Linked DNA regions of Homo sapiens: all the other regions are linked to region 5. The links are contacts of gene promoters, found by promoter capture Hi-C in blood cells and fetal thymus (Javierre and others, 2016). All regions are on one chromosome and are shown on one strand. Each heading gives the region's core, a stretch centred on a gene start or on the middle of the fragment in contact. The rest is flanking DNA. Distances are from core to core; before and after follow the strand shown.

What was found. The method cuts DNA at HindIII sites, captures the fragments that hold promoters and counts their contacts. A CHiCAGO score of 5 or more calls a contact.
Region 1: a contact is called between a fragment that was not itself captured here and the fragment with the promoter of ADAM7-AS2 in region 5, in 1 of 17 cell types (endothelial precursors). The highest score is 5.8, in endothelial precursors.
Region 2: a fragment that was not itself captured here is called in contact with the fragment with the promoter of ADAM7-AS2 in region 5 in 1 of 17 cell types (megakaryocytes); the score reaches 5.5 in megakaryocytes.
Region 3: a fragment that was not itself captured here is called in contact with the fragment with the promoter of ADAM7-AS2 in region 5 in 2 of 17 cell types (endothelial precursors and megakaryocytes); the score reaches 8.4 in endothelial precursors.
Region 4: a fragment that was not itself captured here is called in contact with the fragment with the promoter of ADAM7-AS2 in region 5 in 1 of 17 cell types (megakaryocytes); the score reaches 5.1 in megakaryocytes.

The regions. Positions count from the first base shown.
Region 1 is chr8:24,846,131-24,848,830 of GRCh38, reverse strand. No RefSeq gene overlaps it. Among named protein-coding and RNA genes, the nearest start is that of NEFM, 66 kb to the left of the region's middle. The HindIII fragment of the contact is 2,761 bases long and covers 1-2,700 here.
Region 2 is chr8:24,928,992-24,931,691 of GRCh38, reverse strand. No RefSeq gene overlaps it. Among named protein-coding and RNA genes, the nearest start is that of NEFM, 17 kb to the right of the region's middle. The HindIII fragment of the contact is 3,543 bases long and covers 1-2,700 here.
Region 3 is chr8:24,864,492-24,867,191 of GRCh38, reverse strand. No RefSeq gene overlaps it. Among named protein-coding and RNA genes, the nearest start is that of NEFM, 48 kb to the left of the region's middle. The HindIII fragment of the contact is 6,520 bases long and covers 1-2,700 here.
Region 4 is chr8:24,818,496-24,821,195 of GRCh38, reverse strand. No RefSeq gene overlaps it. Among named protein-coding and RNA genes, the nearest start is that of NEFM, 94 kb to the left of the region's middle. The HindIII fragment of the contact is 2,513 bases long and covers 163-2,675 here.
Region 5 is chr8:24,513,432-24,516,131 of GRCh38, reverse strand. It overlaps ADAM7-AS2 (ADAM7 antisense RNA 2), which reads left to right and starts at 1,264. Exons shown (of 5, transcript NR_125809.1): 1 at 1,264-1,346; 2 at 1,468-1,557. All of the region lies in intron 1 of ADAM7-AS1 (ADAM7, ADAMDEC1 and ADAM28 antisense RNA 1), which reads left to right. The HindIII fragment of the contact is 1,717 bases long and covers 914-2,630 here.

The sequences.
Region 1 (2,700 bases), core at 118-2,617, 330 kb before region 5:
TAAAGGGGCTTGGAGTAGCCTCTCACCAATTAAATTTCCTCTAGACAAACCCCGCATAACTTTAAAATGAGCTAATGATAATAATACGAGGTACGATTTTCTGGAAAGTGAATCTTTTGTCAGAAAGAAGATTGGGCAGTAAATATGTCTCAGGAGGGAGCTGAGGTCTCTACACAGTTCAAACTAAATGCACAACAGTATTTCAGATGTCACAAGGTGACTGCATCTCCTAGAATATCATTAATCAATGTTCTAGGGTTTTGATAGAGAAAGCATCCTTTGCTCTCCTGGGGCTCTTGTGCTTTTTCCACTGAGTATTTCCTTTGGAAAAGTTGTCATCCTTCTTTCTGCATTTTATGAGAAGCTGCCTCTCTGCCTGAGCTGTTGGTTTGTAGGTCAGAGTTGAGTGGTCACATGGGAAGAGCTAGGAAGAAAAAGGTTTGGAGTAAGACTGCTAAGTCTACCGACCTCAACCAGACTGGGTGTGGGTTTGGGGTGGGTGGGGGAAAAGAGAAACCAATGTTCCCGGTTCTGGGTGCTTGAGGGTCTCCTCTATGGGGACAGCCAGGGCTGAGTTGCTCAGTGATCAGGTGACAGGTCAGGAGGGAGAACAGGGATGACAGTGTTGGGTCATATAACATGCAATGGAAGGACTATCTAATACAAAACAAAAAAAAAAGCAGCTCATGCAAAATAGTTATCTTACATTCACTTAAATTTTGTTTATTCACACCCACCCTTGAGGCTGCTGGTTGTCTTTCTGTGAAACTGCCCAGGATGGCTGGTTTTTTGTCTTGATATAGTGGAAATCACATGAATTTGGAGTCAGATAAATTTGGGTCCAAATCCCAGCTCTGCCTTCTCACAGCTGTATGACCTTGGACACACTATCTAACCCCAGTGTGCAATATGGGAAATGGGCTCCTCCTCAAGGATTTGGTGGAAGGATTAAAATGATATATTAAGTTGGTACAAAAATAATTTCGGCTTTTGCCATTACTTTTGCACCAACCGAATAGCTTGCAGCTCATGCCTTGTATTCAATATATTCAGTGTCACTATCACTATTCTCTCCATCTCCCCTACTCCTGTTGCTTCTATGATCAGTTAGTCTATTACATTTATCATATCAGTATTTTATGCTTTTGTTGTGTCTCAACTATAGGAAGTATTAAAAGGGAAGAAAGAAGTTGAAGAACTACATAGTAGGAAATATCCCAAATCCACCATCTCTTCTCTCTGGGAGGTGGTCTTAGTTTCTGGAAACGTTAATACTAAGTCATCAGCAACCCTTATGCATAATAGTAAATGAGACAGTCACTATTCTTATTAGGATGCTATCTTAGTTGGATTGGGCTGCTATGACAAATGACCTTAAACTGGGTGGCTTATAAACAACAGGTATTTCCCACAGTTCTAGAGGCTGGGAAGTCCAAGATGAAGACACTGACAGATTCATTGTCTGCTGGGGGGCCCATTTCCTGCTTCATAGATGATATCTTCTTCTTGTGTTCTCACATGGTGGAAAGGGATAGTTGTCTCTCGGGTCTCTCTTATAAGGGCACTAATTTTATTCATGAATGCTCCACCATTGTGACCTAATCACCTTCCAAAAGGCCCCACCTCTTAATAGCGTGGGAGTTAGAAATTCAGTATATGAATTTTGGGGAAACATAAATGTTCAAACCATAGAAAGTATGGGTTTTTCCAACCAAGAGAACTTTTGGTAGGGGGCTTTTCTGTGATTTACTTTAGCCTACTAGCTGTTGAAAAAATTCTCCATTGCATAATATTCTAGCTGAATTATTTATATTGCCTACAACTTGATAGCACATTTTTACTCTAGAGAAGACATTACAAAATAGTAACTGGCCATCACAGAGTATTTACATTTTATGACAGGTTATTTACAAACTAGCTTATTTCTTACAACCAATGCATAAAGTAGATTATTTTCTTTGTAAGTGAGGAAATAGAGGTTTAGAGAAATTGAGTGTTGATGGACACATAAAGAAGAGATAGCATTCATGTTTACATCAAATGACTCCAAAACCCATGCTCTGTTAAATAAGACAGTCAAGTAAGTCTAACCTAAATAGAGCTGCTTTCTTTGAGACTTCTGGTTGTGTAGTTCAATTAGAGCTGGAACGATCACTTACACAAAATCATTTATATTTTAGTGCTACTGGAAAAATTGAGCCTCTGCAGTGTTCTGCTTTTATCTTGCTTTACTTTCATTAGGCTGGACTTACCTTTACTGTTTTACTTTTGATGCCATTGACCTGGCACACAAACCTAGGGCATGATGTCCCAGTTTCAGAGGCAAGAAGAAAAGAATCTGCTTTATTTAAAAACTATATGCTATATCTGGAGTTTTTCTAGTGAGCTTTTAGTGCTCATGAAAGGCAGCTACATGGAATTTCAAATGACAACTTAGACAAAGATATTTACCAAATAAACACATAAAGATTCCATAGGTTTGCAAACCATCTTCTTTCCGGGAAGACGTAGAAAAGACTTTCAAAAGGCATGGATGACTCAGTCAATATAAAAGCCTTAGACCTCTCTTTCTCAGTTCCACCAAGTCCTAACCTGAACTCAATTAGTTAACACAGTCTCTGTTGCTATCATCCTAGTTCAAACCACCACCTGGGCTGACACCTTTTATATTGCCCAGTATCCAGTTTTCCCGTAACCCCT
Region 2 (2,700 bases), core at 57-2,556, 420 kb before region 5:
CTGCTTATACCTCCACTTGTTATAGTTCATGATGTACAGAACTCTAACAAGTGCAGGTATAAACAGACTGTAGACCTTTAGGCCTGTGAACACTGAATATCTGAAACAGGTCTCGGTTAATTTAGAAAGTTCATTTTGCCAAGGTTGAGGATGCATACCTGTGACACAGCCTCAAGAGGTCCTGACAACATGTTCCTAAGGTGGTCAGAGCACAGGTTGGTTTTATACAGTTTAGGGAGACATCAGACATCAATCAACATATGTAAGAGGAACACTGGTTTGGTCTGGAAAGGCAGAACAACTCAAAGCAGGGAGGGGGCTTACAGGTCACAGGTAGAAAAGAGACAAATGGTTGCATTCTTTTGAGTTTCTTTTTCTTCTTCTTCTTTTTTTTTTCTTTGAGATGGAGTCTCACTCTGTTGCCCAGACTGGAGTGCAGTGGTGTGATCTTGCCTCACTGCAACCTCTGCCTCCCAGGTTCAAGTGATTCTCATGCCTCAGCCTCCCAAGTAGTTGGGATTACAGGCACGTGCCACCACATCTGGCTAATTTTGGTATTTTTAGTAGAGATGGGGTTTCACCACACTGGCCAGGCTTGTCTCAGACTCCTGACCTCAAGTGATCCACCAGCCTCGGCCTCCCAAAGTGCTGGGATTACAGATGTGAGCCACCATGCCCAGCCTCTTTTGAGTTTCTGATTAGCCTCTCCAAAGGAGGCAATCAAATATGCTTTTATCTCAGTGAGCAGAATAGAATGGGAGGCAGATTTGCCCTAAGCAGTCCCCAGCTTGCCTTTTCCCTTTAGCTTAGTGATTTTTGGGGCTCCAAGATTTATTTTCTTGTCACAGGCCAAACTTAAAATATTCCAAGAGGCAGCTTTAGGCTAAACTTGATTTAACAGTGATCAAATTATCTTTTATTGGCCCCATGTTTCAGATGAGAAAAGGGATGTGAAGAAAAGTAGGATGAGTCGCCTAAAGTCACATGGTGAGTGTGCCAGTCATCTTTCAATGCTTGTTCTCAGCTCAATTTCTCACACTGACCCTGCTCTACTCTTTATCACAGGAGTTGCATAGTTCAGGCTCCCTTCTTGATTAGATTGCATATGCTACTGGGTCATGGGAGGAACCAGAGAAAGGGTAGAAAAGGGAGGAGGGACAAATCAGAGAATACCTGCCACCATCACCTCCCCACCTTTCTTTCAGGCCCCACGTCCAGCAGAGGTAGTGTCTCCTTTTCCTGCTTGAGTTCTTGAGTATGACTTCCCTTGGACACCTCTCCCCTCCATGGTCTCAGTTCTCACCAGGCTGCCCCTGCTGCCATAATTCTAGCTCCCTCTGGATGATCCTGGGTTCTGGTCTCTGGTAGCAACATCTACTTCTTGTGTGCTGCAACCCCAGAGGTGATAATGGCTTTTTTCCATTGCTAATTTCTGAGTTGCCCCATTATCCCCTGTGATGAACTGAACTGTTCCCTCTCCCCCACCCCAAATTCATATGTTGAAGCCCTAAGCTCCCAATGTTACTGTATTTCGATATAGGGCCTTTAAGGAAGTAAATAAGGCTAAATGAGCTTTAAGGGTAGGACCCTGATCTGATTGGATTAGTGTCTTTATAAAAAGAGACACTGGAGAGCTCACTCTTGCTCTGTCATGTGAGGACATGATGAGAAGGTGGCCCTCTGCAAGCCAGGGAGAGAGCCCTCACCAGAAACTGACTGTGCTATCACCCAGAGCTTTCTGTCATTTAAGTCACCAAGTCTATATTTTGTTATGGCAGCCCACACTGACTAGAGTTGAATTTGCTTCTTACCTTTCCCTTAACTTGTGGTATATTTCCTTGTATTACATTCCATTCTCTCTGGAGCTCTTAGAATGTTCTTTCACCTCCTCCTCCTCCTCCTCTTTGTCCTCCTCCTCTTCCTCCTCCTCCTCCTCTTCCTCCTTCTCCTCCCCTTGACTGGCCCCTAACATGCTAAGTCCACTAGGAAGTTTAAAACTGGAAGTTGAACCAAGATCTAATTGGACATCAAAATCTGTGTTCTTAAAAGCTACACTGTACTTTCTAGATTGTTTTGGTTGTCTGAAGAGATTTGAGGAACAGCCAAGTAAATAATATGAAAGAGGCTCTGTTTGATTAATGACACTAAGAGGGATGGAAATGGAAAAAAGTTTCAAGTTTTCAGTGGTTCTAAATGTGACATTTTAGACCCATCCTTTGTAATGACAGGCTGGAGGTTGGGGGTCTCTGTGGAGAGACAGCATTCCAGTTAGTGGCCCTGCTGTCATGGACAGCAAGAGGGGTAGGGATATTGTACTGATGGAATGTGGACATTGGTGTTCCTTGACAGTATCTTGAATGGTATCATGATATGGCATGCCAAGCCCTGAAATATATATTAGCTTGGCAGTGAATATTTATGTTTTTCTTTTCTGATAACACATGGAGTTATAGGCTGTTAATGTGGGCAAGGTACATGTCTTTAATGTTGTTAACTATTCTCATTCTTTGACAAATCTTTCATTTCTCCCAAGCAATATCTTGTTCACATCTGTTGCCAGAAAAAGGGATTCCAATCCAGACCCCAAGAGAGAGTTCTTGGCTCTCATGCAGAAAGGAATTAAGGGCAAGTCCTTGAGTACAGTGAGAAGACAGAGTTTATTGAAGCTGCTCAGTAACAGAGTAGGCCATCCTCAGAAAG
Region 3 (2,700 bases), core at 141-2,640, 350 kb before region 5:
GAGAGATAATAAAAAAACTAATTGCAGGGGCTTTCATTTTTTTTAGGTAGGAAAGTTCTATAAAGTCACCTGGAACACTAAATTAGCAAACACGGCGCCATTGCTCTTAGGGGGAAACACAGAGTTAGGTTCCTGTGAGCCTCTGGTCACGACATTTTTGTCAGCTAATCAATATATAACCTTGTTTTATGTGTGTTTCTGTTTAAAGACGTCTTATTTAATATAGTTGATTCATTAACATGAACTCAGGGCTAACAGCATATCACTCATGCCTGAATGAAATTTACCTATTTTCTCTGTAAGGCACATCCCAGCCTTTTTGCACTTAGAAACACTAGACAGCACTTTAATGCTTGGGGACCATTTTTAAACAATGAAATCGTCAAAAAAGACACAAAAATGTGAAAAATGTGGCAGTAACTAGATCACAAAAAGAATATTTACAGTATGAGAGTAGAAACAAGAAGGCAGAATGCCACCATGTTGGACCTCAGCTGGTCCGACATGTGCATCAGACAACTCAAAATTTCTTCTACTTTGTGCGTGTCAATGAATGACCATGAAAGCATCATAAGTATTGATTTGGAGGTTACTAAACTAAATTTTAGTGAGTGGGCAAATTTGCAGACATGAAATCCTTGAATTAAGGCACTAACCTGCATCAGACATTGACTGTATGTTATTAACTGTTTCTATACCATTGCAATTGTGCTGATAATTACGGTGATGCAATATCCTTTCACAGGGAGTCTGGAGGTCAGAGAAGATTTTCTGAGAAACAGACACTAAAGCTGAAATCTTAAGGGCAAATTGGTGTCAGTTGGGTTGAGTGGGGAATGATGACAGTCTATTTCAGGCAGAGCAAACAGCATATGCAAAGGTCTGAGATGGGAATGAGCATTGCATATTTCTAGGGCCTGAATGAAGTCCCTTATAGCTGAACTACCCAGACCCATGGGGAGGGAGGAGCCAGATTATGCAGGAACTTGTGACTCCAGTAAAGGATTAAAGAAATTGAGACAGGGTTTTACTCCATCACCCAGGCTAGAGTGTAGTGGCCCAATCATGTCTCACTGCAGCTTCCACCTCCCCAGCTCAGTTGATCCTCACATTTTGGCCTCCCAAGTAGCTGGGACTGCAGGCATGTGTCACCATGCCTACCTAATTTTTGTATTTTTTGTAGAGATGGGTTTTTGTAATGTTGCCCAGGCTGGTCTTGAATTCCTAGGCTCAAGTGACACACCTGCCTTGTCCTCCTATAGGCTGGGACAGTAAAAGATTTTGATCTTTATTCTAAGAGTAATGGGAAGCCAGGCTAAGAGATAGTATATATTTGTGTTTTAAAAGGGTCATTCCCTCTGTTTGAGTGTAAAGAAAGGTCTAGATGGGGCTGAGAGGATGTGGGGAGGGCAGTTGGAAGATTATTTCAATCACTGAGCAGAGACAGTACTAAGGTTAGGCTAAGGGCAGGGTGCGAGGGAAAAGCGGCATTAGGATCAGAGTTGGGTTTCTGGTGTGTGCAACTGCATAGATGAGGGTGCTATTTCCAGAGGTCAGGAACAGTTGGAAGAAAGTGAGTTTTGAGGGAATTAGCTCAATTTTGTTTTGTAGTTAAAGTGCCTATGAGATATTGTGGTAGGTGAAGAAATGTGCCACCGAGTTCCCCCTTCAGGGAAGGACTTGCTATCCAGCCCAGCGGAAGGCAGGCTGCAGATAGCCATCAGCAGTCAGCAACTTCAGGGTCTGCCGGAGGGGCAGAGCTGCCTCCCTAGAGGGCGTGCCCCTCTTGGAGCAGCTCACGTCTGGTGAATGAGTAAGGCGGGACACTCGGTGGGCAATATTGGCTCCAGAGCTCCTTGCTTAGGGTCCAAGGGGAAACTGTAGGACGTTCAACTTCTTCCTTGGACAGGTTCATATAGGAAACACCTTATTACTCACATTTCAGGTCAGTGTGTGCTCTGCAGGCTCTGGCCTGCATCAGATAGCCAAGTGGAGACCAAATCGGACACATGGATGTGATCTAAAGATGCATGTTCACAAATGGTCAATATGCAGGTGGCGAATGAAGATATGAGAGTGGCTGATTTTGTGTAGAAGAAAGAATGAAAAGGAGAAGTAGCCTAGGAATCAATCTTGGGAAACTCCAACCTTTGAATGTGAAACAGGGAAGGATAAACTAAAAGACTGTTCAGAAAGGTGGGAGGATACCCAGGAGGAGACCATGAAAGACAAAAAAGAAAATAGTTAACTCCACAGAGTGCTGCTGAGAGGCTACGGAGGCCCAGGTCAAAAGTATACCTTGCAGAAGTCATTGGCAACTTAGCTCAGTGGTTGGGTGGGCTGTTGAGGGGAGATGCAAGGTTTCAGTGGGTTGTGGAATGAGTGAGAAATTAAGAAATAGAGACAGTGAGTGTAGACAACTCCTTTTAGAAATGCGACTGAGAAAAGGACAGAAGACATAGGGCTGTAATTGAAAGAAAAAATAAGGCTTGAGATATTAAAAAAATTACACTTTTTTTAATTTAAATTTAAGTTTTTTTATTTTTAATTATTGCGGGTACATAGTAGGTGTATAGCTTTATGGGGTACATGCGATGTTTTGATACAGGCATGTAGTGTGTAATCACATCATGTAGAATGGGGTATCCCTTCCCTGAAGCATTTATCCCTTGTGTTACAAACAATCCAATTATACTCTTT
Region 4 (2,700 bases), core at 170-2,669, 300 kb before region 5:
TTCTTGGGCTGATGCCCATTTTCCTTATTACTATGTTTGTTACATACGTGGCTATAGAGAAGTTTCTATGTTCCTATGAGTCTCAGTATGAAACAATCAGTAAAATGTTATCCTTTTTTAAAATGTGAAACATTCAGAAATATTTTATAATCCAGGAAAGCTTACAATTGACTTTTAAATCAGGAAAGTCACAGTATGTGCCTCAAAGGCTTGTTGTGAGGATTGAATGAGATTAGCCTGGTGCTGCACATGGTAAACTCTTGGAAAATTCTAGCTCTTATCATCCATAGTGGGTATTATTAATTTTCGTGTTTATGCCATTTTATTCAGCTTTTTTTCTGTCCACATGGCCGCTGTTCCTGGAAATCCATAATTAAGATCTTAGTTTGGCCTGCTTTGATGCTGCCTCTGTTGTTGGTGGGCCACTTGTAAATTCATATGCCCTTTGGATGAGACTTCAAAGAGACTGAAAGGTTATTTTGGACAGCACAGCCTCCACAGAGAAAGCTAATATATTCTTTCTCCACAAATGTCTCGTCCTACCCATCTCACATCAATAACAAATCACTTAAGATAGCTGATGACTACAGATTTATTAGATTATATGCAGTCATCTTCAAGGGCAACATAAAAGGTTTGGATGGAATCTAAAATAAGCCTTCTGACATGCAAAATGCTGATGTTATACTTTAATCATTGGGTTTTTATTTATTATCTGAAAATATTTTTATGAGTATGTCTTTTTCTTATTTACTATTTGGTTACTCAGTGATTACATGGAAAATGGAGGATAAATGCATGATTTCTTCCCTTTACCAGTTTTTAAGGTAATGAGTTGGTTTCCTGTCTTAAGATAAGTTAATTTTTTGCATCATTATAAATTCCTGATTTGATATAGAATTTTATGGACTTCAATTCATTGTATTTTTATTGATGCCCAAACTGAAAGATCATATCATGCATCTGAAAATATAGATCCAGAATGAATCTATATGACCCCCAAGGTATATTCTAGTAAAATTACTGGACTTTAAAGAGAAACAAAAATCATTTGGGCATATAAGCAAAAGAGAATGTGATATTTAAGGGGGAAGTTAGATTATCCTCAGACTTTTCAGCAGCAATCCTTTATGACAAAGGAAATGATGTGAATATATTTAAGATATTCAAGGAAAGAAAATGTGAGCTAAGAATGTATTAGAAACTGAATTTTGTTGATGAAGGACACAATCTGTAATTAAAATGCAAGAAATAAAGAGCTATTATTTCCATAAACTTTTCCTGAGGAATCTACTAAAGAACATTCCAGACAAAAATGAGAAGGAAGACCTCAGCATTAGGACTGATGATGAGGATAGAATATATAGTTATCTTTAGAAATCAGAGTAAATGGGGGTTACCTTTAGAAGTAAGGATAAATGAGGATTAAAAGAGAGAGTATGGTCTGCAATGACTACATGCTCTGACAATGTTGATAAAATACAATGTCTAAAAGGAGGGCAGATTGGGGAAAGCATATGTAAACATTTTTAATTGGTTTCAGTAATCAGAATTGGCTATGTTACTATCATCTTTCTGAAACTGTTTGTATAATGTGGGGCAGAGCATAGATAAATTATGAGGTATTCTAATTCTATATCATCTGTGCCTTGAGAACCAGAATTCTCACTGTGGAAGAAGGACAGTACAGAAGTAATATAGGACAAGGTAGGAAAATTCCCATTGCATTAATTTGAAAAGGAAATGTTTGTGTGAACTCATAGGACATCTTACCTTAAAAAAATCTTTCTCTTTTTCTTTCTCTTTCTTTTTCTTATTGTTTCTGTTTCTCTCTTTACCTATCACCTGTCTGTATCCTAGCTTTGTCCTCTGAAAAGGCCATAAAACAATGACCAGACCAGTCACAATGAATATTGGTAGCACTGAGATTCTTGCCTTTAAATATTGTTTCCCACTGAATTGTCTGTTTCTAGGTCAGGGTAGATGAGCTTGCAATAATCATGTCATTACAAGTAGCAGGCAAGCTGTCAAAGACTACTAGATTCATGTCCAAAGGACTCAGGAGCAAAACTGAGGAGGTGTCCACTGGCCAAATTTGGGCCAATATGCCCACAGTTTGTTCACCATTTTATTAGGAATGGTTTCACAAGTAGAGCAAAATATCCCCACTTTTCCTGCATCTCTGGATTGTACCATTAACATTTTACTACACTGGCTTCATCACACATCTATCCAGCTATCCACCCACTAACCTATCTTATTTTTGGATGCATTTTAAAGTAAATTGCAGCCATCTTAACTCTTCTTCCTAAAAACTTCAGCATGAAAATGTCCACTTCTAACTCACAACACTAGAAATGAAACACAAAAATGACCCTGATGACAGGCTGAGAGCACTGAGGAGCAGGGGAAGGACAGAAACAGGAAATCTAACAAAGGCAGAGATTCAGGGTGGCTGGAAACAAGTTCCTAGCCTTGACAGTTTTGCCTGAGGCCATTCACAGGGGCATGGTTCCCCCTCTACCTGAGCTTTAGCCATTTATCTTCATATACATATTTTCCCCCGTCATCTCTGACTTTATTCTTATTGGATCCTTTATATAATAGAGCAGAGCATTCTTGATATTGCATTTTTAAACCTAGGATAAAGCAGCTTCTTTTATATATATCAAGCTTCGAGCTTGTAATAGTGGAAGGAAA
Region 5 (2,700 bases), core at 15-2,514:
TCAAAATCATGCAGTTCTCCCCCCTAAAACACAAATTTTACCTTGTTACTTTCATTTAAGTTATTTTACCAAGTCATTTGCCTTTAAGATATCCACACCATGCCAGGCACAGTGGCTCATGCCTGTAATCCCAGCACTTTGGGAGGCTGAGGCAGGCAGATTACTTGAGGCCAGGAGTTTGAGACTAGCCTGGCCAACATTGTGAAACTCTGTCTCTACAAAAAATTAAAAAATTACCTGGGCATGGTGGCACACGTCTGTAGTCCCAGCTACTCAGGAGGCTGAGGCAAGAGAATTACTTGAACCCAGGAGGCAGATGTTGCAGTGAGCCGAGATCATGCCCCTGCTCTTCAGCCTGGGCCATGTAGCAAGACCTTGTCTCAAACAACAACAGATAACCACAGCATAGAATATCCAATGCAGCCTGTCTTTAATGTCCTCTCATACCATGCTTTCCTATATACCTCATGATATAACTACACTAACCTACTTTCTGTGATCAGACCTACCAAACTCAGGTATGCTTAGACTCGCTGCTTCTCCCTGGAATGTTAATTCTCTGCTTGGCAAACCCTTGTACCTTTGTTAAGACCTTGATTAAAAGTTACCTCTCTGACGCCTTCTCCATTCCAACAAGCATTAGAAGCCTCCTCTTCATTCCCCTGGGCAATTTCACCTACTGCCTTCCTCTTTGGTGCCATGTATCACATTAATTTATTTTTCTAATTTTTTTCCAGAATTTCATTTTTCATGTATATGTGGCAATGTATTTTATTTTTAAACTTTTAATTTTTAATTGTTGTGGGTACAGAGTAGGTATATATATTCAGAGGATACATGAGATGTTTTGATACAGACATCACATAATTTATGACCATCCATTTAGAAGCCTGTTTTGCTTGCTCACAAAGCTTGGTTTTCTCAGGGCAGGGCTGTGTACACCTACATATCTACATGTCCCTAGAATAATACCTCTAACACAGCCAGTATGCGATGAGTACATGTTGAACAAAGACGTTAATGGATAAGTAAATAGAACCTACATGGCATCAGTCCACATTCGTTTTTTACTTTTCTAAGTTTTTTCCCCTCTGAAATCTGTAAGTGTGCTTAATCTCTGCCTCTGCTTTTTTGTTATTGTTTCTGTTTAGAGGAGTCACAGAGGGATCCTAGTGAAGAGGATTATAACTTTGCCTGTTTTGTGATGCGGAGGTGATGTCATGTTGTTCTACCATTTTATCATTGTTCCTTCTGAGCCTGAGTGTTCTTTCTCTTGAAGATTCAAGTGAACCAGGGAAGGAGAATGACATCAGACTGGGCTTGTGCCTGATAATTCATTTCTGAAGGTGCAATATTAAGTGTCACAGTGTCCAGCTGGTGATATTTTCAGCATAGAAACCTGTTAGACACGGCAGCATTAAGGAGATGGAATGAATTGATTTATTTCTCTTCTGAATTGCTTGGCAGTGCTTCAAGATTGACGCATCAGATTTGCACAATGTGCCACTTTAGGAGATTATTTCTTCCTTCCTTCAGCCAGACAGAAGACTGCAGTAGGTAATGATAGCTTAAACTTGGGAAATGTCCTTCTTCAGAGACAGCGTCACGGACATTTTGGAGAGGATCAGATTACTCTACAGCTGCTTTCCCTGGTGGACCTGAGGAGGCACACCCCTGAGCCAGGACTTTAAGGGAGAGGGTAGAACAACCTAGAAGCTCAGAAGGTCACTCCAACTATTATCTTCCCTTCTGTGACTTATTGACATACACTTTGATATCAAGGCACTGATGCTGATAACGTGAGAGAAAGGAATAGATTAATTATGGGATGAGGAGTATTTTAAATGCTAAAGGCTTTGTCTAAAATAATTCACATTTTTCCATCCAGTGGTTCCTCTCTTTGAATCCTGTTAGAATGACAGTAGATCTTTTAATTCTTTCCCCACTTTAGGCATGACTTTGAAGAACCTGAAGATGTGAAAATGAAATGGATACTGTGCTCCTTTTGGCTAGGATTGGGGAGGGCCCACTAACTGATCTCTACTACCCAGCCCCTTTCAACATCAAAGCTACTTTTTTTTTTTTTTTGAGACAAAGTCTGGCCCTGTCGCCAGGCTGGAGTGCAGTGGTGCAGTCTCAGCTCACTGCAACCTCTGCCTCCTGGATTCAAGGGATTCCCCTGCCTCAGCCTCCCGAGCAGCTGGGACTACAGGTGCATGCCACCATGCCTGGCTAATTTTTTGTATTTTAGTAGAGACGGGATTTCACTTTGTTGGCCAGGATGGTCTCAATCCAAAGCTACTTTTAGCAGGATTGAACTCTGAGGTCATCCAGTGGCCAGTTGTGATGCTGTCACTTTTAAAACTGGAATGAGTTACTGTTCGGATGGTGGCTTTGGTCTGAGGCCTGTGATTCCTGTTTTGCCATTTCTTGGCTGTGTGTTTGAGGACCTCTTAATCCCTAGCCTCCTCATTTGTAAAATAATCCTTCCCATGGACCTTGTGCATTTCATGGAAATGCAGTAGTATGGGGTCTGGAAGATTCTTTGTAGGCATTCTACCTTTCCCTATGTGTTCCAAGTGACCCTCATCTGGTGCATTCTTCATTTGATTAAAGCAAGGAAGGAAGCTTTAGCAGAGGGCTGTTATCTCTTGATTGGCCGCTGCCATCCCCTGACCCACCGTCTTCCCTTTTATGCAC